Linked DNA regions of Homo sapiens: regions 2, 3, 4, 5 and 6 are each linked to region 1. The links are contacts of gene promoters, found by promoter capture Hi-C in blood cells and fetal thymus (Javierre and others, 2016). All regions are on one chromosome and are shown on one strand. The core of a region is centred on a gene start or on the middle of the fragment in contact, and the rest is flanking DNA. Distances in the headings are between cores, read along the strand shown. Region 1 holds the start of ANKRD46 (ankyrin repeat domain 46). Region 2 holds the start of LOC124901993. Region 3 overlaps LOC107984005 (a long non-coding RNA gene). Region 4 overlaps LOC107984005 (a long non-coding RNA gene). Region 5 has its middle 4.5 kb from the start of ZNF706. Region 6 overlaps LINC03090 (long intergenic non-protein coding RNA 3090).

The links. The method cuts DNA at HindIII sites, captures the fragments that hold promoters and counts their contacts. A CHiCAGO score of 5 or more calls a contact.
Region 2: a fragment that was not itself captured here is called in contact with the fragment with the promoter of ANKRD46 in region 1 in 7 of 17 cell types (total B cells, naive B cells, total CD8 T cells and 4 more); the score reaches 10.3 in total B cells.
Region 3: a fragment that was not itself captured here is called in contact with the fragment with the promoter of ANKRD46 in region 1 in 4 of 17 cell types (naive CD8 T cells, naive B cells, naive CD4 T cells and 1 more); the score reaches 8.1 in naive CD8 T cells.
Region 4: a fragment that was not itself captured here is called in contact with the fragment with the promoter of ANKRD46 in region 1 in 1 of 17 cell types (naive CD4 T cells); the score reaches 5.4 in naive CD4 T cells.
Region 5: a fragment that was not itself captured here is called in contact with the fragment with the promoter of ANKRD46 in region 1 in 1 of 17 cell types (naive CD4 T cells); the score reaches 7.1 in naive CD4 T cells.
Region 6: a contact is called between a fragment that was not itself captured here and the fragment with the promoter of ANKRD46 in region 1, in 4 of 17 cell types (naive CD4 T cells, naive CD8 T cells, total CD8 T cells and 1 more). The highest score is 7.1, in naive CD4 T cells.

Annotation. Positions count from the first base shown.
Region 1 is chr8:100,557,466-100,561,657 of GRCh38, reverse strand. ANKRD46 (ankyrin repeat domain 46) reads left to right here and starts at 1,899. Exons shown (of 5, transcript NM_001270377.2): 1 at 1,899-1,947. RefSeq lists enhancers at 1,596-1,735, 1,703-1,997 and a silencer at 1,736-1,905. The HindIII fragment of the contact is 4,322 bases long and covers 219-4,192 here.
Region 2 is chr8:101,308,524-101,312,715 of GRCh38, reverse strand. It overlaps LOC124901993, which reads right to left and starts at 592. Exons shown (of 6, transcript XM_047422526.1): 1 at 371-592. The HindIII fragment of the contact is 1,308 bases long and covers 1,750-3,057 here.
Region 3 is chr8:101,288,352-101,292,543 of GRCh38, reverse strand. All of the region lies in intron 4 of LOC107984005 (a long non-coding RNA gene), which reads right to left. Among named protein-coding and RNA genes, the nearest start is that of LINC02844, 28 kb to the right of the region's middle. RefSeq lists an enhancer at 3,955-4,192. The HindIII fragment of the contact is 4,404 bases long and covers 1-3,899 here.
Region 4 is chr8:101,244,563-101,248,754 of GRCh38, reverse strand. The region is part of intron 1 of LOC107984005 (a long non-coding RNA gene); the gene reads right to left. Among named protein-coding and RNA genes, the nearest start is that of LINC02844, 16 kb to the left of the region's middle. The HindIII fragment of the contact is 2,102 bases long and covers 873-2,974 here.
Region 5 is chr8:101,208,058-101,212,249 of GRCh38, reverse strand. No RefSeq gene overlaps it. Among named protein-coding and RNA genes, the nearest start is that of ZNF706, 4.5 kb to the right of the region's middle. The HindIII fragment of the contact is 443 bases long and covers 2,598-3,040 here.
Region 6 is chr8:101,137,572-101,141,763 of GRCh38, reverse strand. LINC03090 (long intergenic non-protein coding RNA 3090) reads right to left here. Exons shown (of 7, transcript XR_928462.3): 6 at 2,013-2,132; 7 at 1,441-1,899. It also overlaps the pseudogene RN7SKP249. Among named protein-coding and RNA genes, the nearest start is that of LINC03090, 11 kb to the right of the region's middle. RefSeq lists enhancers at 4,189-4,192, 4,181-4,192. The HindIII fragment of the contact is 760 bases long and covers 1,761-2,520 here.

The DNA of each region.
Region 1 (4,192 bases), core at 650-3,149:
CATGAAGGAGCCATAGAATATGTGCAGCATGCAGTTCACTTTAATCTCATCAGAGAAAAAAGCTGTCTTCACCATCCCTACATTTTTTCATATCAATCAAAAGCAGTAATTCATGAAGAGGAAGAGATAAATTTGAATAGAAGTAATGGAGAGGCTCTCAGATTGTTGGATGAGTCAACTAATGAAGAGTAAATCTTATTAATACATTGGGAAAAGCTTTAATTTCCTTGCTAATTTGTCATAGTTTATAGGCATCAGTGAAGATATTATAAACTCAATACACAACCAGAAGGAGGACATCAATAACAAACTGATTAATAAATGTCATCAATTTAACAAGTAATATTGCTGATTAGTCATAGCACAATAAAATGTGAAATGCCCTAAGATCTTATAACTTTTTTTTTTTTGAGATGGAGTCTTGTTCTGTCACCCAGGCTGGAGTGCAGTGGTGAGATCTCGGCTCATTGTGACCTCCGCCTTTTGGGGTTCAAGGATTCTTGTGCCTCAGCCTCCTGAGTAGCTGGGATTACAGGTGTGCAACACCGTGCCTGGCTAATTTTTGTATTTTTGTAGAGCCAAGGTTTCACCATGTTGGTCCGGCTGGTCTCGAACTCCTGACCTCAAGTGATCTGTCCACCCCAGCATCCCAAAGTGCTGGGATTACAGGTGTGAGCCACCGTGCATGGCCAGATCTTATAATTCTTACATGAAAGAAATGTAATAGTGATTTCCTCTAATATGACAATAGTCCTAAACCTTTACATGACACTTTCAAGAACAAATTATTAGATGGTGTAGGTGGTCCTTGAATGAATGAACCATGAGATACCCTAGAGCAGGGGTGTCCAATCTTTTGGCTTCCCTGGGCCACATTGGAAGAAGAATTGTCTTGGGCCACACATAAAATACACTAACACCAGCAATTGTTGATGAGCTAAAAAAAAATTGCAAAAAAAAAAAAACTCATAATGTTTTAAGAGAGTTTATTAATTTGTGTTGGGCTGCATTCTAAACTGTCTTGGCTGCATGCAGCCTGCAGGTGTGGGCCAGGGGTTGGACAAGTTTGCCATAGAGCGTGGCTTGGTTGGATGAGGGTGCTAGAATTCAGAGGACGGTCACTGTGCAGTGAGAGTTGTCTTGGCTGTAGGACTGGAGTTGGTAAAATGAAAAAAAGAAAAAACTAGTTTTGCATGAAAGAATGTTTCCAGCATATGAATGTCCCACCACACTTTTAGTTAGTCTTGGCTGTACATGTTGCAATAAGTCAAGGAACCCTACAAAGTAGGATGGAAGGATTCAAACTGCGAATCGCTTGAACCCGGAAGGCGGAGTTGGAGTTTGCAGTGAGCCGAGGTTGAGCAACTGCACTCCAGCCTGGGCGACAGAGTGAGACTCCGTCTAAAAAAAAAAAAAAAAAAAAAGATTCAAACTGCTTTTGAAAAAAGTAAAAATGCAGGGTTATATTTTAGAAATAGTGCAGCCAATCATTAGTGGCTATTCCTAATATGTCAATTTCGGGTCTATAGAAGACCTACCTAGAGGCCAGCAACTATTAATTGATGCTTATAGCACCTAATGAAACTGCCCTTGCCTTTGAAGCCCCCATTTAGCTAAGGGGATGGGATGTGAATTTAGAATAGGACGTGAAAAGTGCAAAATGCTCCCGGACTCAGATCGGATAAACCTCTTCTAGGCTGTCTTTCTCTTCTGAAGCCACAGTTTTGATGCTTTCCCTAATTCAGAGCAGGCTTTCCCGGAGTCTCTGACTCAGAGCAGCCCGAGCCACCGTGAGGACCGCCCACCTGCAGGGGGCGCGCCGGGGGCTGCAGCGCGAGACCGCTCTGGCCCAGCGGGGACTCCGACTACCCCTGTCTGGCCCCTCCCCTCCGCCCGTCACCGCCTCCTTGAAGCTGCCGCTGTCGCTGCTGCTCGTTCGAGTCGCAGGTACTTGGCCCGGGGCCTGTGGGCAGCGCCTGGGCTAGAGCCACTTGATATCTCCTGCACCGTCCCTGTAGCACTGGAGGTCCAGTAGGCCTGGCCGGGGCCCTGAGGGGCGAGGGTGCCCGGGCTTCCCACACCTTCCGCGGCGACTGGAGGGAGCCGGGCCGAGGAAGCGACCGCGGGTCCGTGATGGCTTCTTCGCGGTCTGTGTGTTCACGAGGGCCGGGCAGAGGCCTGCGAGGGTTCTCGTTTGCGCTTGCGGGTTAGGGCTGTGGTCCGGGGAACCCCTGGGCAGCGCGGGCAGCCCTGGCTCGCGGTTAATCGGGGGGTGGAGCGCGGAAGCCACGCCGCAGGTCCAGCTGCTCGGCCGGGGCGAGACGGTGCTTTCGCGGCGTGTGCTTGCAGGAGCGCACAGTTCAGGCGCCGGGACAAGCTGTTGGGGTGTGAGTGAGCTCTCCAGAATGGCACATGGCTCCGGGGTGCCCGGGTTAAAAGGAAGGATTTGCACACCTTCCACTTAGGGCTCGGGTAATCGCAAACTTCCTCCCTTAATTGGCTTGCAGTGCTAAAAAGCAGATCGTTCTCTCTGAGGTTTTCCCAACAGTACCTCAAGAAAATAACATCTGTTTTTTGTAACGTTCCACGGTATTCGGAATTGGCTACAGAACATAATAAGGTAAAAATATGCCATTGAATAGTAGCGCTTCTCAATCTTTAAAAAATGACGGTGGTACCTAGGAGCCTCTTAAAGAGCTGTAATATGAGTGGTGTGGGGATTATTTTTATGTTCTAGTAATAGCTATTTTCAGTGCTTATTTTATGTCAGACACGGTGCCATTGCTTTAAATACCTGGTACCTTTAATCCTTGAAGCAACCCTATCAGGTACCATTTCCATTATACAGATAAGGAAACTGAGGCACCGAGAGTCTGACTTCTCCAAGGTCAGAAAGCTAGCAAAGGCTGAGCGAGATTTGGTCTCATCTCCCTTACTTCAGTATCCCTGCGTCTGTTATCTAGCCAAACATGTAGCGCTGTCTAAGAGTTTTATCAATTAGATTTGTAGCCTGAACTGATTTCTCTCAGGCTTAGTTTTCATGGTTATATGCAGGAGTCCTACATGAACTCCTTTTTAGTTTAAAAGGAGTTTAGTAAGAAAACTGTTAGCTCATTAAGGACTATAGTGATAATAAAGTTAAACTTGGACTGGGGTTCTCACTGTGCCAGTACAATTTGATTTGAAATAGAGATGAATTTGTTTGGTTGTTAACACACTTTATTACATTTCTTCATTATTTATGTTTCCATACCATTTTTTAGTGAGTTCACTTTGCCTTTGCATTATTATGGTAGCAGTACCAGAGGGAAATCAAAGATTTTTTGATGATAGTAAGTTAATATTTTACAGAATACAGGAAAGGCACTGGAGAGAGGATGTGAAGTGATAAGGAATTTTTGGCATGTTATATAAATTGTGTTACTATGGAAAACAAAGGATTCTCACAGTTCTTTATCAAAAGGGAAATTGTATTTCCCATTGTGGAAATAAGTTGGGCTTTATAGTCCCAAACTTCTTAGCCTTACCTATTATAGATTTAAGAATTTGCATATTCGGCATTCATATAGCAAGCGTATATTGAGTGCCTTCTATGGCCAGGCTCTGTTCTAAGCACTGGGGGATGTGAGAGTGAACAAAATGAAGTCCTTGTCTTCCAGGAGCTAACATGTCACTGGAGGAAGGTGGGGTTGGGGACGATAAGCGGGATTTGTGAAAGTTAACGTATCTGGAGTCAGATGGTAACAGTTACTAGGAATAAAAATAAAGTAGCAAAGGGGGATAGGAAGCACCAAGGAAGGAACAGGTGCAGTTTTAAAATAAGGACTGGTGCCATGGAAAAGACTCAAGCAAAACTGAAGGCGTTGGGGACCGCCATGCAGCTGTCTAGGGAAAGAGCATACCAAGCAAGGGCAAAAGCCCAGAACCCTTCAGTCTTGTTAGAGGGACAGCAAGAGAGGAACAGCAAGGAGGCCAGTAGATTTGAGCACCTGGAGGGAAGGAGGGTGAGACAAGGTCAGAGAGCTAATGGGCCCAGGTAAGGACTTTTGCTTTTACTCTGAGTGAGAAGGGAGGTGTTTGGAGGGTTTTGAGCAGAGGAATGAGGGGATCTGGCTTAAGGTTTTTAAAGGATCACTCTGGCTGCTGTGTTCAGTGTTGACTGTAAGGGCAAGGATGGAAGCAGGGAGACCTG
Region 2 (4,192 bases), core at 1,154-3,653, 750 kb before region 1:
TTGCACTACCTGTTTTTATAAACACAACTTTACTGGAATATAGCTATACCTGTTCATATTATCTATGGCTGTCTTTGTGCTATAAGGACAGAGAGACCATATGGCCCACAAAGCCTAAAATATTTACTATCTGGCTCTTTATAGGCAAAGCTGGCCTTTAACTATCACACCACACTGCTTCCATGGATGGGGTGGAGACGGTGATAAAGTCCAGACCCTGCCCTCGAGAACATCACAGCCTAGTAAAAATAAGAAGCCATTTCAGTGCATCCTGCTCTCACTATATAACATAAAAATAACAATTAACAAAACAACAATGCAGCAATAATGACAATAACAGTAATCATAGCAACATTAGTTGAAGGCTTACTGCGTGCCAGCTGCAGTCCTTAGTTCTTCACACTTAGTAAGTCACTGAATTCTCCCAACGACCCCATGAAATCCGTCCTATCACTGTCCTCGCTTTATATAGCAGGAAACTGAAGCACAGAGTGTTTAACAGTGTTATCCATCACCCCCCGGGAGCACACAGACTGAACCAGGCATTCTGGGAGGGAGGTAGAATTCAGGGAGACAGAAAAGGCAGACACCAACTTAGGACAGTGGAGGCTTCACTGTCCATAAAAATTGATTTGGACTTTTTTCCTTGGTCAATTATAATTAGAAATATAGAAGATACATTTTACTGAGGGGCCTGATCATTAGAAGAAATCTCCTCTGGCAAAGTCTTTAGCAGTAAATCTCACCAGGAAGTACCCTACTTCATCGTCAAACCTCGGTTTCTCATAAGGAAATCTAAGGAGAGTCTCAGGAGATAAAGAATGCCAACAGCCCTGAAATCGCTGCTGTTGGCAAAAATTTTGCTTTAGAACAGCACCTGCCATCAATGGGTGCTCAATACACCCACTGAGTTTTATATTTTGTGATTGAGTTAGTTATATATTTTGTAATTGAGTTATATATTTCATGCACAGTTCCTGAATGGTCTTCTAACTAATCATTTCTGGTACCATGTCAAATGACGGGGCTCCTGTGCCATTTCACAATGAGGAGGAGTAAAGGAGCTGATCGCTATTCCAGTGCCAGGTGCTGGGCCGTGTACTTCAGGTACCCAGCACGTTACCAGGTTTAATACAAATGACAAAATACAGGATTTCTGCTTTCAGCTAGGGACCAGAATTACCTTCCTATCTTAACCAACTGAAAAAATGGACGAACGATATGAAACAATGTTCTTCAGACACTGAAACCTGGCCATATAGGTGATCACTGAGAAAAGGAAAACAAACAAGGTGTGTCCTATGAGTGCCTTAGCTCAGGACTTGGAGCAAGTTTACAGGCTACAGGGTAAGAAAGGTGGCCCCAGACAGAGCCCCGTGGTCCCCTGAGTTGAAGAAACTCAATTCCTAGTAAAGAGAGACAAAGGTGACTAAAATTTGTAGGAAAAATAACAGTGTGACATTATGGGATAACAAGAAATATATATATTTGATCTCTGCCTCCAGTTCCTGACATAGTGCTGCTGAAACCCTTGTAGATGGTGGTGCTAGGAGAGTCTTTTGTTCTAAAATTTGGTCTTTGACCCCAGTTCCCGACCTAGAGCTCCTGCGACCTTTGCAGTTTCCTAAGTGATAAGAATGTCTGACATAGAGCTCCTAAATCCCTTGGAATTTCCGGAGTGGTAGAAGCAACTTTTGTTCTGATTAGGCGATTCTTGGTGGGCTCCTGGATAGCCTGAGGATGGAAGCTTGTTGCTAGGGAAACCAACCATGTAAACAGAGGGTTGAAACTTTCAGTTCCATCCCCCAACCTCTGGGGAGAGTGAAGAGGCTGGAGGTTGAGTTGATCACCAATAGCCAATGAGGGAATCAATCATGCCTATGTAATGAAACCTCCATAAAAACTCACAATGATGGAATTTGGAGAGCTTCCGGATTGCTGAACACATGGAGGTGCCCGGAGGGTGGCACTCCCCTTCCTCCATATTTTGTCTCGTGCATCTCTTCCATCTGTCATTTGTCTGTATCCTTTGTAATATTCTTTGTTTTTGGGGGTTTTTTTTGAGGAATCTCACTCTGTCCCCAGGCTGGAGTGCAGTGGCGCAATCTTGGCTCACTGCAACCTCTGCCTCCCAGGTTCAAGCAATTCTCCTGCCTCAGCCTCCTGAGTAGCTGGGACTACAGGCACATGCCACCACGCCCAGCTAATTTTTGTAGTTTTAGTAGAGACGGGGTTTCACCATGTTGGCCAGGATGGTCTCGATCTCTTGACCTCGTGATCCGCCTGCCTTGGCCTCTCAAAGTGCTGGGATTACAGGCATGAGCCACCACGCCTGGCCTTGTAATATTCTTTATAATAAATGTGTAAATGTAAGTGAAGTGTTTCTCTGAGTTCTGTTGAGCCACTGTAGCAAATTAATTGAACCCAAAGAGGGGGTCATGGGAACCCTGATCTATAGCCAGTCAGTTGGAAGCACAGGTCACAACCTGGGGTTTGCTACTGGCATCTGAAGTGGGGGCAGGGACCAGCAGTCTTCTGGGACTAAGCTCTTCACCTGTGGGATTTGATACTATCTCCAGGTACATAGTGTCAGAATTGAATTGAATTATTGGACACTTAGTTGATGTCTACTGGATAATTGCTTGATGTATGGGGAGAAATCCCCATACATCTGATGTCAGAAATACAGTGTTGAGTGACTGTGCAAGAGAGTAGAAAGAAAAAAACAGGGTTTTCCCTCAAAACAAGGAGTGAGAGAGAGAAAGAACAGGCCGACGTTCTTCAGAGGGATCCCCTTGTATGTATGGTTGTGCTGTACTGATCTCTATATGCAGGGAAGGAGACCACTGAGAATGGGGAAAGAATCACTGAAAAGATGTAGGTGGAACAATTCCAACAGCTCACAGAGACTAGAATAGTTTATATGCACTAGCCTGAGTGGAAAAACCTCCAGATACATAGAGCATTGTACCCATAAGAAGGGTATTGCTTCATAGTGGGACCAAATAAATCAAGAAGTCCTAAAGATTGTTCTGAACTCCCCTTCCTAACAAAGCTTAAAAGCAAGACTTGAAACGTTCAAACTATTTCCAAGTAACTGCATCTCAGAACAGAGCCCAGCAATATTTAAATAATAGTTTAAAAATACTGAGCATTTAACAATGTAAAATTATCATTGTCTAGCACCCAGCCAAAAATTATCAGGCATGAAAAGAAGCAGGAAAATACAACCCATAGACAGAAGGAAAAAACAATCAAATGAAACAGACATAGAATTAAATTAGCATACACGGGTGTTAAATGAGATATTATAAATATACTTCATATGTTCAAAAAGTTAGAGGAAAATCTGAACATCATAAGGAGAGAAATTAAATACACATAAAGGACATAAATAGAACTTCTTATAGATGAAAAATACATTATCAGAAAAGAAAAAACACTGGCTTGGATTAATAGCAGATTAGACACTGGAGAAGTAAATACTAGTGTCTTTAAAGACAGAACAATAGAAATTACACAAAATGAAACCCAGAGAGAAATACGATTTTAAAAAGTATGTAAGAACTGGGCACAGTGGCTCAGGCCTATAATCTCAGCACTTTGGAGGCCAAGGCAGGCAGATCACTTGAGCCCAGGAGTTGGAAACCAGCCTGGGCAACATAGCAAAACCTCATCTCTTCAAAAAATAAAATACAAAAATTAGCTGGGTGTGGTGATGTGTGCCTGTAGTCCCAGCTACTCAGGAGGCTGAGGCAAGTGGATTGATTGAGTCCGGGAGGTCAAGGCTGCAGTACGCCCTGACTGGGCCACTGTGCTGTAGCCTGGGTGACAGAACAAGACCCTGTCTCAAAAAACAAACAAACAAAAAAAATAAGAACTGAGTATCAGTGACCTGTAAGACAATATAAAATGACCTTGTAACTACAATTACATTTACACGTCGTTACTTGTAATAACAATTACATTTACATGTAATAAACACATGTACATGGAATGCCATATGAAGAGCAGAGAGAGGTATTAAATTCCTTGGTTAAATTTTATAAAATATGTACAAGACATACATTAAAAACCAAAAAGCATTGCTGAGGGAAATTAAAGAAAGAGAGATATGTCCTATTCATGGGTCAGAAAACTCAATATTGTTATCTGTCCATTCTCCCCAAATTGATACATAGGTTCAATATAG
Region 3 (4,192 bases), core at 448-2,947, 730 kb before region 1:
TTCCACAAGCTCTTCCTATAATGTGACTGGTGCCCACCCACTGAGAGGTGGCATCTGTTTTTCCTCCACTTGAATCTAGGGACAAGCCTATGGCTGCTCAAGTCACTGAAGAATGGTGGAAGTGACTGATGCTCTGTGACTTCAGAGGCTAGATCCCAAAAAGGTCAGAGCCTCCATCCACTGCTTGCATTGCTTTCCACCTCTCCTCCCCCTCCAAGCCCTCCCAGTGCTCGCTTTCCAGCCAACATGCAGCGACAAAGTCCAAACAAGTCCAAGTGGAGAGGCCACATGGGGAGGGACTGATGACCTCAGCCAACAGCCAGCATCCACCACCAGACATGTGAATGGACAAACCTTCAGAAGATTCTAGCCTGCAGTCTTCAGGGCTTTCAGCTGAGGCCCCAGACACTGTGGAGTAGAGTCAAGCCAGCCATCCTCTTGTCTCTGCTCCATAGAATTCCTCTGCCCTGATCAAATTCCTGACCCACAGAATGTGTGAGCCTAATACATGGCTGTTTTATGCCACTATGTTTGGGAATGGGGATGCGGGGGGAGGTAATTGTTATGCAACCATAGTAACCAGAGCATAGGTAGCCATTGACACCTAACTGATGAAAGACATCGAAACCAAGAAAATCAGATAATCACTTTGTAAAAATATATCAGTAGCTGTACTCTTGAGTTATGAACTCTGCAGTCTAAGAGCCAAGATAAACACCCTGCCCAAGAATTAGAAATTGCATAATTCCAGATTTCATATGTCTTTACTTGACTAATTCTCCACTACCATCCCCCTAAAGCCGGGGGTGTTCTAGCCAAGGTTGTCCAGGAACCACATAAAGGCCCCCAAACTGTAACCATAAAATCCATCCTCGATTTCCTCTCTTCCTGGGTCTCATCAATGGAAACAATGGTAGTGGTTTTTCAGAAGCCATGTGGGAAGATGGGCTATGAGTGCTATCATAGCAGATGTTAAGGTGCAGTCTCTAGACACGAACTTCCAAGAGTGTGTGCTGGCTGTCATGTCTAACATTTTTAAGTCAGCTAAAATTAGTGCATGTTTAAAAATGTTTAAAAAGTCCCCCTACCCCTCTCCCCATCCCCAGGAGTAATCACTTAACACTTGAGAGGACAGTGGCACATTCATCTGGCACAAGGCCCAGAATGAGACTGCCTGGCTTTGAATCCCAACTTTGCCACCAACTAGCTATGTGACTTTGGCTCCAGCTCTCTCATCTGTCAAATGAGGATAACTTACCTTCCAGGTTTTTGTGAGTTAAATGAGTTACTATAGATAGAGTACTTAAAGTGTCTAACACATACAAGGTCTCGGTGTGGTTAGGCTTTACTACTACTGCTGTGGCTCATACTACTATCACCATCCTCTTTATTACTAGCAGGACTTTCTGTAGCTTTGATGGGCTCAGGAAATGGCAAATGTTGGAAGAAACCCAACATTTCTTCCAGAGGTAGGGAGAGGACTCCCAGACCAGAGGGTGACCCATCTGGGTCCACTGACACTGTGGGATGGGAGGGCCCATATCACAGCTTTGCCTCAGGCTGGTCCTATCCATGCATTTAGGGGGGCTCGTGGGTTATTGAGCCCTTGGTGCATCTCTAGGTGTCACAAATCACATTTCGTAGCTTATTGCAGAAAAGTGAGAGCTAAACATGGTTCAAATATTTGATATAAGAAAAAAAATCGGCTGGGTGCAGTGGCTCACGCCTATAATCCCAGCACTTTGGGAGGCAGAGGCAGGCGGATCCCTCAAGGTCAGGAGTTCAAGATCAGCCTGGCCAACGTGGTGAAATCCCGTCTCTACTAAAAATAGAAACATTTGTTGGGTGTGGTGGCACACACCTGTAATCCCCACTACTTGGGAGGCTGAGGCAGGAGAATGGCTTGAACTCAGGAGACAGAGGTTGCAGTGAGCCAAGATCATGCCACTGTACTCCAGCCTGGACGACAAAAGTGAAACTCCATCTCAAAAAAGAAAAAAGAAAAGAAAAAAAAATCAACAAAACCTGGCATCATCCTAACAGTTTAGGAACTCTAACTAGTTGTGAGAAGAAAATGCACTTACCCAGTCCTTTTCAGGAAAATTCCTTCAGCTTTCATCTCTAGAACTCCATGAGGCTGTCCTTAAAAATACACCTAGTTCCTTCTGCTCACATTCACCATGCTTACTGGAATTAAGGATTCTTCACGCAGGCAATCAGTAAATGCTATGGAGGGAATGTGCCTGCAGCCTCCCGCAACCCACCCGCAATAGCAGCAGAGATGGAAATCTACAGTTTGGTCTTCTCAATAGGGTGGCCCTTGAGGAGCAGTCAGCCTATCCCCTCTGAATAGGTAAATTATCTGATCTTGTGAGCTGAGCATGGCTAACGACCTAGAAATTTCCTTTTTATATCAACTCAGATGCTTTGGCTACAAACAGAAAAACCTGAATAAAAGTCGCTTGAATAATAAGAAAAACTAGTTATCTCACTTAACCAGGAGAAGGAGGAAGTCCCAGGGCTGTCAGCTCTGGGACTCACAATGGTTTAAAGAGTCCAAGAGCTTTTTCATTAAAAAAACTTTTCCAACGTACACTCCTCCCCCATACTTTCTCTTACATGTCATTGGTTAGAGTTGTGTCACATGAGCATGCCAAAACCAATCCCTGGGAAGGAATTACCATGATCGTCTTAGACTCATCAGCACTCAGCTAAAGACTAGCCCAGTGTGGGGACCTGGGAGAACAGGGAGGTCAAGTATGTTGCAGTTAAGAAATTCATTTATCTTTCTTATTCCAAAAAGGCATCTTTGGTGATACATGCAGTTGGATGAGATAACATTTAATAGAATTAAATGATGATGAAGAAGCAAAGGAAACACAAGGCTACATAAAATGAACCCTGAAATATGATCAAGTATCAAAAATACACCCCATGCATCCTCTAAGTTTGCTAAGGGGAGACCACAAACATGGCTTTAGGCGTCAATTCAGGAAGGCTTTTCCAGAGGTTGCAAATGGGTGACTTGTGGGCCAAATGCAGCCCCCAGATATATTCCATTTGGGTTTTTGCAGTATTGTCTGTTTGTTATTGGTTGGCTGTCAGCCTTTAAAAAATTGGAATATTTTATATTTTTTTAAAAATATGTATTTCTGGCTTTTTTGTTTTTTTGAGAGGGACTCCCATTCTTTTGCTCAGGCTGGAGTGCAGTGGCACAATCTCTGCTCACTGCAACCTCCGCCTCCCGGGTTCAAGCAATTCTCCTGCCTCAGCCTCCCGAGTAGCTGGGATTACAGGCATGCACCACCACACCCAGCTAATTTTTTGTATTTTTAGTAGAGACAGGATTTCACCATGTTGGCCAGGCTGGTCTCAAACTCCTGACCTCAGGTGATCTGCCCACCTCGGCCCCCAAAGTGCTGGGATTACAGACAGCCATGATGCCTGACCATCTGGCTTCTCTTGTTTAAAAAAAATCAGAAGATGCAGCAGCACTAGGCCTCTTTCCCACCTGACAGGCGAAAGTAGCTGCCCCTCTAAACCTTACCTGTGCTCCCCACTTCTCCACGTGCCTTACCTGTTGCCTGCATTGTGCCCTGGGCCTTTGAGAGTGTGCCCGAGTTAGACAGCTTACAAGGTCCCTGGGATAGAAGCCAGCCAGTTCCTGACAAGCACAGATGAGCCTCACCAAGTGACCACTGTGGACTGTAACACACGCCCTCAGCTTCATCCTCACTGCAGACCCCTGGAAGAGCTCCCAGGGATTGTCCTTTATTATGGCTTTCTACACAAACCAGGGGATGGAGATGTAGGGAGTGGGCATGTGGCAGATGAGAAAGGGGTAAAATGTAAGCCTGGAAGTCATCTGCCACTCAGGGATTACTTTCCCAGAGAAAGCTTCCACAGTTGCTTCCTGTTTTGATAAGGCTGGGTCTACTGCAGAAGAGGAATCTGTCTCAGAAGACATGAGATTAAAGAGAATAAATAGGAAAGCATGCAGAATAAGACTAGGTTTGGATAACGATTCTCACTGTGAGAACAACTTGACAATCTGCCACTATGCTGAACTCTGATTTTCTACTCAACAGTTAAAGAGGTTTTGGATTTAAAGAGATGCTGCCTGCCTTCTGATTCAGCCTTTCTTGGCAGCCATATGTCTCCTGGTCCAAAAATGTCCACTGACTCCAGCAAG
Region 4 (4,192 bases), core at 674-3,173, 690 kb before region 1:
ATGATTTCAAGTCTAGTTCCCTTTTCACAACACTCACTATACAGATGAGACACTTGGGGGTCCACTGAAAACATCAATAGAAGCCCCAGGGTCAGCTCTTTCATTCCTGCAGTTTATTCATATTTATCCCTGACTGTCCATTTAATCTACACATCTCTATATCAAAGAATCTGGCCAGAAAACAAAAACATAATTTTTAGGAGTGTGTTTGATGATTTACCCAGGCATACAAATTAAATTGATTTAATGCAATAAGAACCACACTTTTGCAGCCCAGATATTTTGTTCTTGTTGCTATTAATGTTTAGCTGGAATGTACAAAGTCACAAGGGCAGGGAATATGTTAAATTTTTTCATGTTTCCCTTGGTGTCAAAGTGCTTAGGATATAGTTAGCACTCAACAAATATCTGTTGACTATGAGATTATTATAAATATTGGCACAAAAATTAGGAATGAATACATTACATTACACAAAGAATTCTGGGATATTCTTGGGATGACATCATGATTGTCAGATTTTTTTTCGTCTTTAAATGCTTGTGTATCTCATTGTATCTCATTGCTGACTTACAGAAATTATTTACTCCAGACTTTATTATTTTTACACTGTATTATAAATTCCAAAAGGTTATTTATTTCTGTGTTGTTTACTTCTGTATGCCCATGGCTGGGCCCAAGGCTTAGTACATAGTAAGCACTCCATGAATACAGGTTGTTGCATTTCATTTTTACAACCCAGTAAGACCATTTGCCACCCCGCCATTTAGTGATTGTCAGCACAACTTGTGGTTCTTGCCTAAGAACACTGGCTGGTTTCAAGACTTTGCAGCTAGCTTTAACTCTTAGACAGCAATGAAATATACAACAAGCTTCCTAACACTGGGCCAGATAAGCTCTTAGCATTTATAAATACAGAAACAATCAAAGTGCCAATGAGTATACCAGACAGCTTAGCTCTGGGACTGAACAAATAAGAGTTCTATAAGCACTCAAATAATCAATAAGCCTCCTTCTCACTAATATAAAAAATTACTTTGGCAGCTCTCTCACAAACTCTAGTTTCTCATCTGTGCAGAAAGTATTTTCTGAAGTATTTGTTCTTTTGAGAGCTTACAGATGGCAATGACTTACAAGCCTGTTTAATTCTAGTAACACACTTCATGATCCTAACCAAATTCCAAATGGCATCAGTTGACTAGACTTGAAAACTTGGATGCTCACAAAAATTGCATGCTAAATGCTTGTCAATTACATTCTGAAATAGTAGGCAGAGATGTGGATGGAAAAGGCCTTGAGATACAAGGATGACATGGAGAAAAGGACAGTGATAGGAAGGAACACAGATTGTTTGGATGACATTAAATAGATCAGTATAAATAAAGCAAAGTTTGTGAAGAAGAGATAAGATATGATATATGGATTGGGCTCTTACATGTTTACTCAAAAGCCTTGAATTCCATGTATTAGTTAGATATTGCTGTATAACAAACTGCAATAAAACTCAGTGGCTTAAAACAAAAAGCATTTATTATTGCCCACAATGATATATTATTTCCCACAGTATTGAAGTTATTTTGGTCCTGACTGGGCTCACTCATATTTCTGCAGTCAGGCAGGCTGTTCTGCTGATCTTGGCTGGTCCCTCTCACATTTTTGGTGATTGTCTGGCTGTAGGCTTTTATAGGAAAGAGTTAAATATTGTAGTTCTGATGATGTTGCTCCTCCAAAGGACCTGCTTATAGAGCTGACCCTTGGCTGGTTTCTAGGACCTTTGCTTTTGGAATGCTTCCTATGTTACTATTTATATTAGTTTTCTATTGCTGATATAACAAATTACTATAAACTTAGTAGCTTAAAACAACACAAATATTTTATATATTAGGGCTCTGGAGATTAGAAGTCTAAAATGGATCAGAAGGACTGCATTCCTTCTGGAGGCTCTGGAGAATAATTCATTTTCTTCCTTTTCAAACTTCTAAAGACCATCTGCATTCCCTGGCCCATGACACACTATGGTTTGGATGTTGGACCAAACCTCATGTTGAATTTGATCCCCGATGTTGGAGGTGGGGCCTACTGGGAAGTGTTTGGGTCATAGGATCAGATCCCTCATGAAAGGCTTGGTGTAGGATTTGGAGTAATGAGTGAGTTCTCACACTATTCGTTCCTAAAAGAGCTGGTTATTGAAAAGAGCCTGGCACCTCCCTTCCTCTCTTGCTTACTCTCTTGCCACACAGTCTTTGCACACAGAGGATCCCTTTTGCCTTTTGACATGAGTGGAAGCAGTTTGAGGCCTTCGTCAAAAGCAGATGTTGGTGCCATGCTTCTTGTACAGCTGGCAGAACTGTGAGCCAAATAAACCCCTTTTCTTTGCAAATTACGCAGCCTCAGCTATTCCCTTATGGCAACACAAAAGGACTAAGACATGACCACTTCCTCTATCTTCAAAACCAGCACCAAAGCATTTTCAAATCTCTCCCTCCTTCAGCGGATCTCTGCGCTCTACTTCCTTTATCTTGCCCTTGCTGACTTTAATCCTGAATAATTCAGGAAAATCTTACCATTTCAAGATCCTTAATGTAATCATATGTGCAATGTCCCTTTTGTCATGTAAGGTAACATATGAACAGGTTCTGGGTATAGAAACTTAACCACCTTCAAAGGGCCTTTATTCTATCCTTCTATCTACCACCTAACTGATAAGGCTGTTTGGCATGCCCACGGCACTGAATCCTACCACACCAGCTTGCCTAGAATGTTTATCCAAACACTGTGATTTACACTGGACTGGAATTTCAGTAATTGTGGCTGATCACATAGGCATCCTCTGCCTATTTCTGCAATAAAATCCCAGGACTCTGAGCCTCCAGTCAGCTTCCCTAGTCAGAAATATTGTGTATGTGTTACTTAATTTTATTGCTGGAAGAAAAAGTGTGTTCTGTGTAATCCACCTCCTGCACCAGACACAAAGCTTTGGAAGCCTGCACTTAAACTCCTCCAGACTGATGTGACTTTTTCCCTTGTTGATGCTGTCTTGTATCCTTTGATCACCTATAACCATGAGCACAACTGACTCTGAGTCCTGGGAGTCCTTCTAGTGAGTCATCAAACATGTGGGTGGCCAGAGGACTCCTCCCCCTCCCCCAGACAAGGCTGATCTAAGATTAGACTCAATTGGGACAATGAGGCTCCCCTCTCATGATTTCTCTTCCTCCAGCAGGCTAGTCCAGGCTTGCATTCTCATGAGAGGGTTCTGAAACACAGTGGCAGCTGCAAGGCCTCTTGAGGCACAAGGCAAGCTGATATTCAAGGGAGGGAGAAGTAGATTCTACCTTATGATGAGAGATTTTCAAAAATCTCACTGCAATGGGTATGGATACAGTGAGGTTTTTAGCTGGCAACATCAATTCAGTCCATCTACTATATCCTGTTAAGAGCTTGGACACTCTTCAGTAGTAATGGGGAATGAGAATTACTGTTTTTATAACAGGAAAATAAGATAACAAAAGCAGCACTTCTGGTTCATTAACTGATGGTGAGAGTAAGATGGATTAACAAGCAGGAAGCCGTAGAGACAAAGCAGTTAGAAAGCTGCTGGAATGCACTCATCAGTGATTGGAACACCAGCCAGAAAACCAAGTTATCTATTTGAAAATGGAAGAAAACTATGTTAATCAAGACCAGTTTGGGTAGAGCTTGTAATATTCATACTTTTTCTCTCAAAATTTTTTTTTTTTTGAGACATAGTCTCACTCTGTCACCCAGGCTGGAGTGCAGTGGCAAAATATCGGCTCACTGCAACCTCCGCTTCCAAGGTTCAAGAGACTTTCCTACCTCAGCTTCCCAAGTAGCTGGGACTACAGGTGTGAGCCACCACGCACAGCTAATTTTTTATTTTTAGTAGAGACGGGGTTTCACCATGTTGGTCAGGCTGGTCTCGAATTCCTGACCTCGACTGATCCACCCGCCTCGGCCTCCCAAAGTGCTGGGATTATAGGAGTGAGCCACCGCGCCTGGCCTCCCTCAAGTATTTACTGAATGTGTGCTATATGTTGGGACTGCAACAATGACCAAAATAGACAGGTTTCTTTCACCATGGGGTTTACCTTCTAGCTAGGTGTTTCTAAAAAGGGAACATTTAAGCTGAGCCCCCCCAAATTTACAAGGAGATAGCCCTACTGAAATGAGGTA
Region 5 (4,192 bases), core at 1,570-4,069, 650 kb before region 1:
AATAGCTTCCAGGACACACCATGTTATCATCTCTGTGAGTTCGTGTCCCTCTGATGGTTCTCTTGAAGTTTTCTTCTCCCAGCATAGTTTGTTTTCTCTTGCTTTTTTCTCTGCAACTTTGGGGACTCTGTGTTTCATATAAGAGGTTTTCCTCAAATGTTTGGTTATCCTTGGCTGTGTGCTCACATTTAAGAACAGGGCACTAGACATCTGATTGGAAGACTGATACATGCAGGTGCCACTTTTCAAACATGGGATTTGTTGCAGGATTACCTGGCTGTGCTGTCTTATTGGGCAATCCCAAGTATCAGTATCTTTAGGTATTTCCATTGAGTTGGGTTCTAATCCCCAAGAAAACTCTTTCAGTTTTCTGGCTGGAGGTATAAGATTGTCTGTTTCCATTCTCAGAGCTGAGATGGTGAAGTGTCTCTCAACATTCAACTTAAATTTTCATTTAGTCCTCTGTTTTGCTACCCCCACTCATGCTTGCTGCCCCTTCAGTCCAGAAACCCTCTTCTCTCCTAAATCAGTTACCACTTGTTTACTTACTTTGCAGCTTCCAAAATTCTGCTACATTCTTCTCTTCTGTTTTCTTTTCTTCAATGGTAAAGGAGTTTATGCTTTCTTATAAACTCCTTTACCATTATTTTTAGTGGGATTCCAACAAAGGGTAGAGGTAAATGCATGTGTTCAAGCCTCTATCTTTAACTGGATGGCAGGGGTAATCATTTTCAAATACTGGCCTCACGGATTGTCACTGATACTTGTAATTTCATTCACAATCCACTCTCTTATTTCATCCATTTACAGATACTTATTAACTACCTGCTAGGTGCCAGGCACTGTACTAGATGCTGGTTAACAAGACATAACTCAGGACCTGAGGGAGCTCATCTTCTATGGATAAACAGGCAAGTACAACACAGTGAGATAAGTGCTATTTTTAGGGAAGTACATCATAATCTGTGATACCTAGGAGGTCTCCTAACCGAGTTTAAAGGAATCATTCAGACTTACATTCATTCAACAAATATTTATTGGGTACCTACATCATGCCAGATGCTATGCTAAATACAGGCTACACAGGGATAAAAAGAACAGATACAGAACCACCCTTATAGTATACACAGGACCACGGCTCAGCCTCAGGAAAAAGACTGCCAGGAGCCAAATCTTAGCTTTTCTACTTACTAGCTGTGTAATCTTAGATAACTTAGCCATTTTGTACCTCAGCTACATAAGAGTTGTTGAGAAGGTTAAATGAATCAAAATATATAAAGCATATATAACAGTGCCTGGTAGATAGTAAGTACAGCACAGGTGTTACAGGTTATTGTTTTAGGAATCAAATGGAAAGGAGAAATTCTACAAATTTATATATATACACATATACATTATATATACACATATACATTATATATACATATATATGTAAAACATTTCATGAAACAATACATAATATTGCATGATAAATTCAAAGGATGAAAAGTACAAGGACTCCTCATTCAGATGGGGGCTCAAGGAAGGACCTCCTTTCACTTAGCATAACGTTTTCAAGGTTCATCCAAGTTGAGGCATGTATCAGAACCTCATTCCTTTTTATGGCCAAATAATATTTCATTTTATGGCCATACCACAGTTTCTCAGTTCATCACCTGCTGAATATTTGGGTTGTTTCTACTTTTTGGCTATTATGAATAATGCTGCTTAAAATGTACAAACTTTTGTGTGAACGTATGTTCTCATTGCTCTTGGATATATATCTAGGATTGGAATTGTTAGGTTATATGATGACTCTATGTTTATCTTTTGGAAAACCACCAGACTGTTTCTAAATTCTTCACCTCCTCTCCAATACTTGTTATCATCTGTCTTTTCGATTACAGCCATCCCAGTGCGTGTGAAGTATAATACTATCTCATATTTTGATTTGCATTCTTTGATGACTAAGAATGGTGAGCATTTTTTCATGTGCTTATTAGCCATTTGGGCATCTTGTTTGGAGAAGTAGCTAATCAGATCCGTCACCTATTTTTTAATTGGGTATTTGCTTTCTTAGTATGAAGTTGTAAGCATTCTTTATATATTCTAGATAGAAGTCATTTATCAGATATATAATTTGCAAACATATTCTCCCATTCTGTAGGTGGTCTTTTTTTTTTTTAATGGCATCTTTTGAAGCACAAAGTATCTTAATTTTGATGAAGTTCAATTTATCTGTTTTTTTTCTTTTGTCACTAATGCTTTTGATGTCATACCTTAAAAAGCCTTTTTTGGCCTGGCACAGTGGCTCATGCCTATAATCCCAGCACTTTGGGAGGCTGATGCAGGTGGATCACCTGAGGTGAATCACGAGGTCAACAGATCAAGACCATCCTGGCCAACATGGTGAAACCCCATCTCTACTAAAAATACAAAAATTAGCTGGGCATGGTGGCGTGTGCCTGTAGTCCCAGCTACTCGGGAGGCTGAGGCAGGAGAATCTCTTGAACCCGGGAGGTGGAGGTTGCAGTGAGCCAAGATTGCGCCACTGCACCCCAGCATGGCGACAAAGCAAGGCTCTGTCTCAAAAAAAAAAAAAAAAAAAAAAAAAAGCTTTTTTAACCCGTGGTCATACATATTTACTCCTATGTTTTCTCCTAGGACTTTTATGTTTTAGCACTTACATTTAGGTCTTCTATCCATTTTGAGTTAATTTTTGTATATGGTATGAGGATAGGATTCAACTTTATTCTTTTACATGTGGATATCTAGCTATCCCAGTAATATTTGCTGAAGACTCCTTGCCCCATTGAATTTGTTTGGTGCCTGTGTTGAAAATCAATTGACTATACATATGAAGGTTTATTTTTAGACTCTCAATCCTACCTCATTGATTTATATGTCTAATCTTATTCCAGTACCACACTGTTTTAATTACTATAGCTTTGTAATAAGTTTTTAAATTGGGAAATGTGAATCTTCCAATTTTATTCTTTTTTCAAGGTTGTTTTGGCTATTCTGGGCTCCTTGAATTTCCATATAAATTTTAGAATAAGCTTATGTAAAGATACCAGACAGGATTTTGATAGGGGTTGCACCGAATCTGTGGATCAACTTGGGAATTACTGCCATCTTTACAAAGTGTTCTGATCCATGAACATAAGATACCTTTCCATTTATTTAGGTCTTTAATTTCTTTCAACAATGTTATTTAGAGTTTAGAATACAAGTTTTGCACTTCTCTTGGTAAGTTAATTCCTAAGTATTTTATTCTTTTTGGTGCTATTCTAGTAAATCACATTATTTTTTAAGCCTATTTTTAAAGTCTCTGAAATCAAGATGTATCTTAGAATCAAGGATATCAGCATTTTGTCATAGTTCAGTTGGCAGTATTTTTTAATCTTAGTGGACATAAATGTGACTTACAATTAATGGCTCCTTAGACTCAATACAATATGCTATTAAATGTGAATGTCTATAAGACATCAGAGGGGAGATGAGTAGTAGGCATTTGGATATGTCAATTTGGAGATAGAAATGTGGGGGTCACCTGAAGCTTGCTATTTAAAGGCACAACAGTGAATGAGATTCCTTTGGAGAAAGAATATAAAGAAGACAAGAAGATCTAGGTTGCATGTGTGAGAAATCTCAACATGCAGAAGCGAGTGAAAGAGAAAGAGCTGGTAAAAAATAAATAAATAAAAATAAATCCATTTCTGTTCTAAGTTTATTGTTGCCATTATTGCTGTTGCTATTATTTGCCACTAAACATTTGTCAGAATAGTCTGTTTATTGGGAAAATAATATGTTGATTAATCACCAATTCTTTCATCCCCCCAAATCCTACATGAATACAAATAAACAAATAAGCCTTTCAGGTCTTTAGAGAAGCATTTTAATCTGATTGAGATTTTGGATAGAAAATAGGCACATGTTTATTGCATCTTAACCTTGGGTAATTGTCTAAAGGCAGAAGAAGAAAAACAGTCAGGAGAGTTACTGTAGCATTCACAATTAAAGCCAGCAATGTGTATAAAAATGCTTCTAAGGAGTTCATATCACATTTGCTGTCACATTTCTATAACATAAGTAGGACACCAGCTGGTAGTAATGCTAATTCATCCGCCTTTCATTTACTGAGTGTCACTTCACAGATGTTGAATCTTATCCATTCCTTGTTTCTTTTTTTTTTTTTTTTTTTCAAATTCCC
Region 6 (4,192 bases), core at 891-3,390, 580 kb before region 1:
GCAGCAGAGCAAGACTCTGTCTCAAAAAAAAAAAAAAAATTGTAGCCAGGATGCCACATTAGTAATCAGAAGACTGTTCTGTGGAGCTAGAATAAAAAGCAAGGAAGGTGGATTCAGTCAATGGCATTTTATCCAGGCCATGGTGGACCTGATGATTCGTGTCTTTCTCAACAACAAACTCCTCTCTCCTGCCTGGAAAGCTGCAGCTACTGAATCCAGGTAGCTCCTGGATGGCGCTGAATAGAACCTGCCTGGAGCAGACAATGTTCTTGCTACCCCCTGGCCAATTCTTACTTCTTGCTTCCCCAAAGAACCCTGCCTCTCCTGGTACTTATCCTCCTCGGCCTAGGTAGAGGCTTCAGGGAGGTGCGTCCCATCTGAGGACCCAGGAGATGAATCTTTACTGGTCCAAACAGTGGATCTCCTCCCTGTTGGACCCAGTACCCTCTTTTTATCACAAATATTTTTATATTTTTTTGCCTCAAACTCCTGGGCTCAAATGATCCTCCCAGCTCAGCCTCCTGAGTAGCTGGGACTATAGGCACACACCGCCAGGCTCAGCTAATTTTCTTTTTTTAATTTTTTGTAAGGACAGGGTTTTTTCTATGTCGCCGAGGCTAGTCTTGAACTCCTGGGCTCAAGTAATCCTACCACCTCAGCCTCCCAAAATGTTGGGATTATAGGCATGAGCCACTGCACCCAGCCCTACAAATATTTTATAATGTCCCTTTTACTACACTGAAATGAAATTTGTATACAACATAAACTATCTGTACACATAATTTTAAAAATCAAATAACTATTATGAAGTGGAATTAAAAGAGAAATAATGTACAATAAAACAACATGTATTTCAACATGCAAATTCTTGGCAGAACTGTGCTAAAAGAAATAACATTGCAGGTGCCTGGATCCATACCTAGAATCACAGTCAATGTGGCAGCCACTGGGGCAGGCCCATCGGGTGTATTGTACTGGAGGCTCGAATTCCATGAGTAATGTTGACATTGCTAATGTGATTTTCCAAAACAGTGAACAACTCCTGGAAAAGTTCTAAACAAAACAAAGCAAGATCTTCTCTCGATGTGCACAGCAATTGCTTTCCTGGAAAATACAGTGTGTTTTTTAAATACTTTGGGTTTATATATGAGAGTTTGGTTTTAGCTCAGATCACTTTGAAGATTTTTCATTTGTGCAAATGTTCAATGGGACATTCAAAAATCATGCAGGTCACAGAGTGTGACCATGACCATCCCACACATCGCAGGTTGTCTACCATCTCTAGCCTCTGCCCACTGCATGGTCATAGCCCTCCTTGAATTATTGTGCCAGCCAAAAATGACCCCCTTCACATTTTCACAATGCCCCATGGACCCAAGTGAATCCTGGTGCTCCCATTCCCCCTTTCCCATAATGAAACACAAGGGGAATTCCACTGGAGGCCTTTAGCACAAGGTGTTTCTTTAATACCTGGTAAGAAGAGACACAGGTGAATAAACAGCACCTTTCTCTGCCTATGGTTGTTGCATGAGAATGCGATGTTTGGGGTCTGCAGCCCCCTTGCTAGCTGGGGGCAACCAGCCTGAGAAAGAGGCCAGCACACTGGGCAGGGCAGAGCAGAAAGGGGGAAGGAAGCTGGAGACCAGATGGCTTCAAATGAGCTACTGCAACAGCCAGTCCCGGAACTGCCCCACCTCCAGATATTAAATAAGCGTGCAAGTTGGTAGAGTTGGAACTTTCTGTTCTTACAGCCAAAAGCTTCTTCCTGATAAAAAATACTCACAGCTGGGTGTGTTGGCTCATGCCTGTAATCCCAGCATATTGGGAGGCCAAGGCAAGAGGATCGTTTGAGGCCAGGAATTTGAGAGCCAGCCTGGGCAATGTAGTGAGACCCCATCTCTATAAAAGAGAAAAAAATTTAAATTATTTTTATACAGCACTTATATTATGGCTATTTGAAGACTCCATTTTGGGGTTTAATGCAGAGAATCTGCCTCCTTACTTGGTTTTACCTTGAGAGACAGTGAGGTGATTTGGTTAAGGACAATTTCTGGTTCACATTCCAGGTCAGCTTTCGTAGGCAGTGTAAATTTTAGCAAGTCACTTAATCTTTTGATGTCTCATTTCCTCACCTGTAAAATAGGGACAATAATGGCTTTCAAATTATAGGGATGCTGTAAGAATTAAATTAAACAAGTTACTGCAAGTAAGCACTTCAAACAGTGCCTTGCACATCACTGAGGCTGAATCAATGTTAGCTATGATTACAGAGTATTTTTAGTTTCTTAGTTAGACTTCTTTTGGCCGCATATAACAGAAATTCAACTCAAACTAAATTAAGCAAAAAAAAAAAAAAAAAAAAGAGAGAGAGAGAGAAGTTATTGACAACTGAGGATACCAAGATGGGTTACAGAACAAGAAAGAACAGCTGGAATTTGTGCCCCGGGCTCAAATGTGACCTGGTGCTTCAAGACAAGTGGTTTCTATCCTCAGCTGCTTGTAAGAATCACCAAGAAAGCTTTTAAAAGTCCCAAGGCCTAGGCAGCACCGAAAACCAACCAAATGAAAATTTCTGGGGCTGGGATCCAGGCACCAGTATTTTTTCAAGCTCCGCAGTTGATTCCAATGTTTAGCCAAGGTTGGAAACCACTGCTGTTGAATCTCTGTCTGCCTCTCCTCTCTGCTTCTCTTTTCTTCCTTTCATGCTACAGAAAGCTCTTCCCACCACAGCCTCAGATGTATATCCTTCCATTATAAAAATCTCGATAGAAAAAACAAACAACAAAAAAAAAGTGTTTTCATCCCACCATCCGTATATAAATGGATTTGGCCTATTAGATCTTGCATTCACCCTTTTTATTCTGATCACTGTTGCTGGGGCATGGGGGAATGAACCCACTCCTGCAGCCAGGAAACTTGATGACTCACCAGAAATACTTGGAATGGACACAGGGCAATTCCTTCAAAGATCTAAGAAAATTGAACAGGAAAAATCCAGATACATCATCTAAATAAAGTAAAACTACTTAGACTTCACCTTGGTTGATATAATGTGTTGTCAGCATTATTAGATTCAGCCATTTTTGTAACCAATAAGATTTGGGCTTGATGGTGTCTTGTCTTCACATCTTTTAGCCACTGCAAGTGACGGAGGCTGTCGCTTTGCTAGGATGATTCCTGGGTCTGTCTCTCAACTATCTTGATGGAATTGCAGGCTGTTGATTCTCTAAAACTGCTTACTCACTGACTCCCTGTCATGCCCACGGTTGACTGATCTCATATGTTACCCTCTTGATTTCTCTCCATTTCACTTGGGGATAAAGTCAACTTTAGGTAGGACTTTACTTAGTATTTCAGCTCAAACTGAAATCCATTTTCTCAAACTTTTGGCCCTTCTCCTCCGTTTTACTTGGTGATCTCCAGGTTGGAGTAGCTCTTACGGAAATGCTTTCAGTTAAATTTTTTTTTAACTAAAAGATGATTGAAATTATACATGGAATCTTCAATTGTACTTAATCCACTTGTTCTGAAGCACATGTAACAGATCCTTCTTTAAGACTGGATATTATCAAGAGCTTGTCTGGAGGTTCTAGCAGGGGAGCGCAGCTAGTCTATACCCTTAACCGAAGACCAGTCGTCCTCTATCGGAGATGGTCGTCCTCTTCCACTGAGCGTGCGGCTTCGGGAGGGTGCACATGGAGCAGCAAGGGAGGAAGGAGACACCCGCCTAGCCAGCCAGAGCAGCTGAATCAACCCTGGCAATCAATGGGGTGACAGATGTCTCAGCCAGATCGCCCTCACATCCAAAACTGGATATTATTGAGAACAATAAAACACATTCCCAACCCTCCAGAAAGTGGGGACTTTTTGATCAGTTGGAGGGAAGTGCATTTGAGGAGAGAAGCCACAGTAAATACCCGCACAGGATTAACATAATTCCCAGTGGAAGCAAGTGGCCCCTGTGGAGCATATCCGTGTCCCCAAGGAGCCTGTTCCCTTCGCTCTGTCTCTGTGGCCTTGTCATGTCATCGCACATTTTCTGAATTCAGCTTACTGTAGGTTTCACAAGACTCTGGCTGCACACTGAGCAGTTAATTTGGATCTCTGGGTTTCCCAACTGGCTAAAGCCACTGCTGCAGCACCATGGAGGGCCGACGGGCAAGCTGGGGAGACACTGCCGCTAGAGGATCAC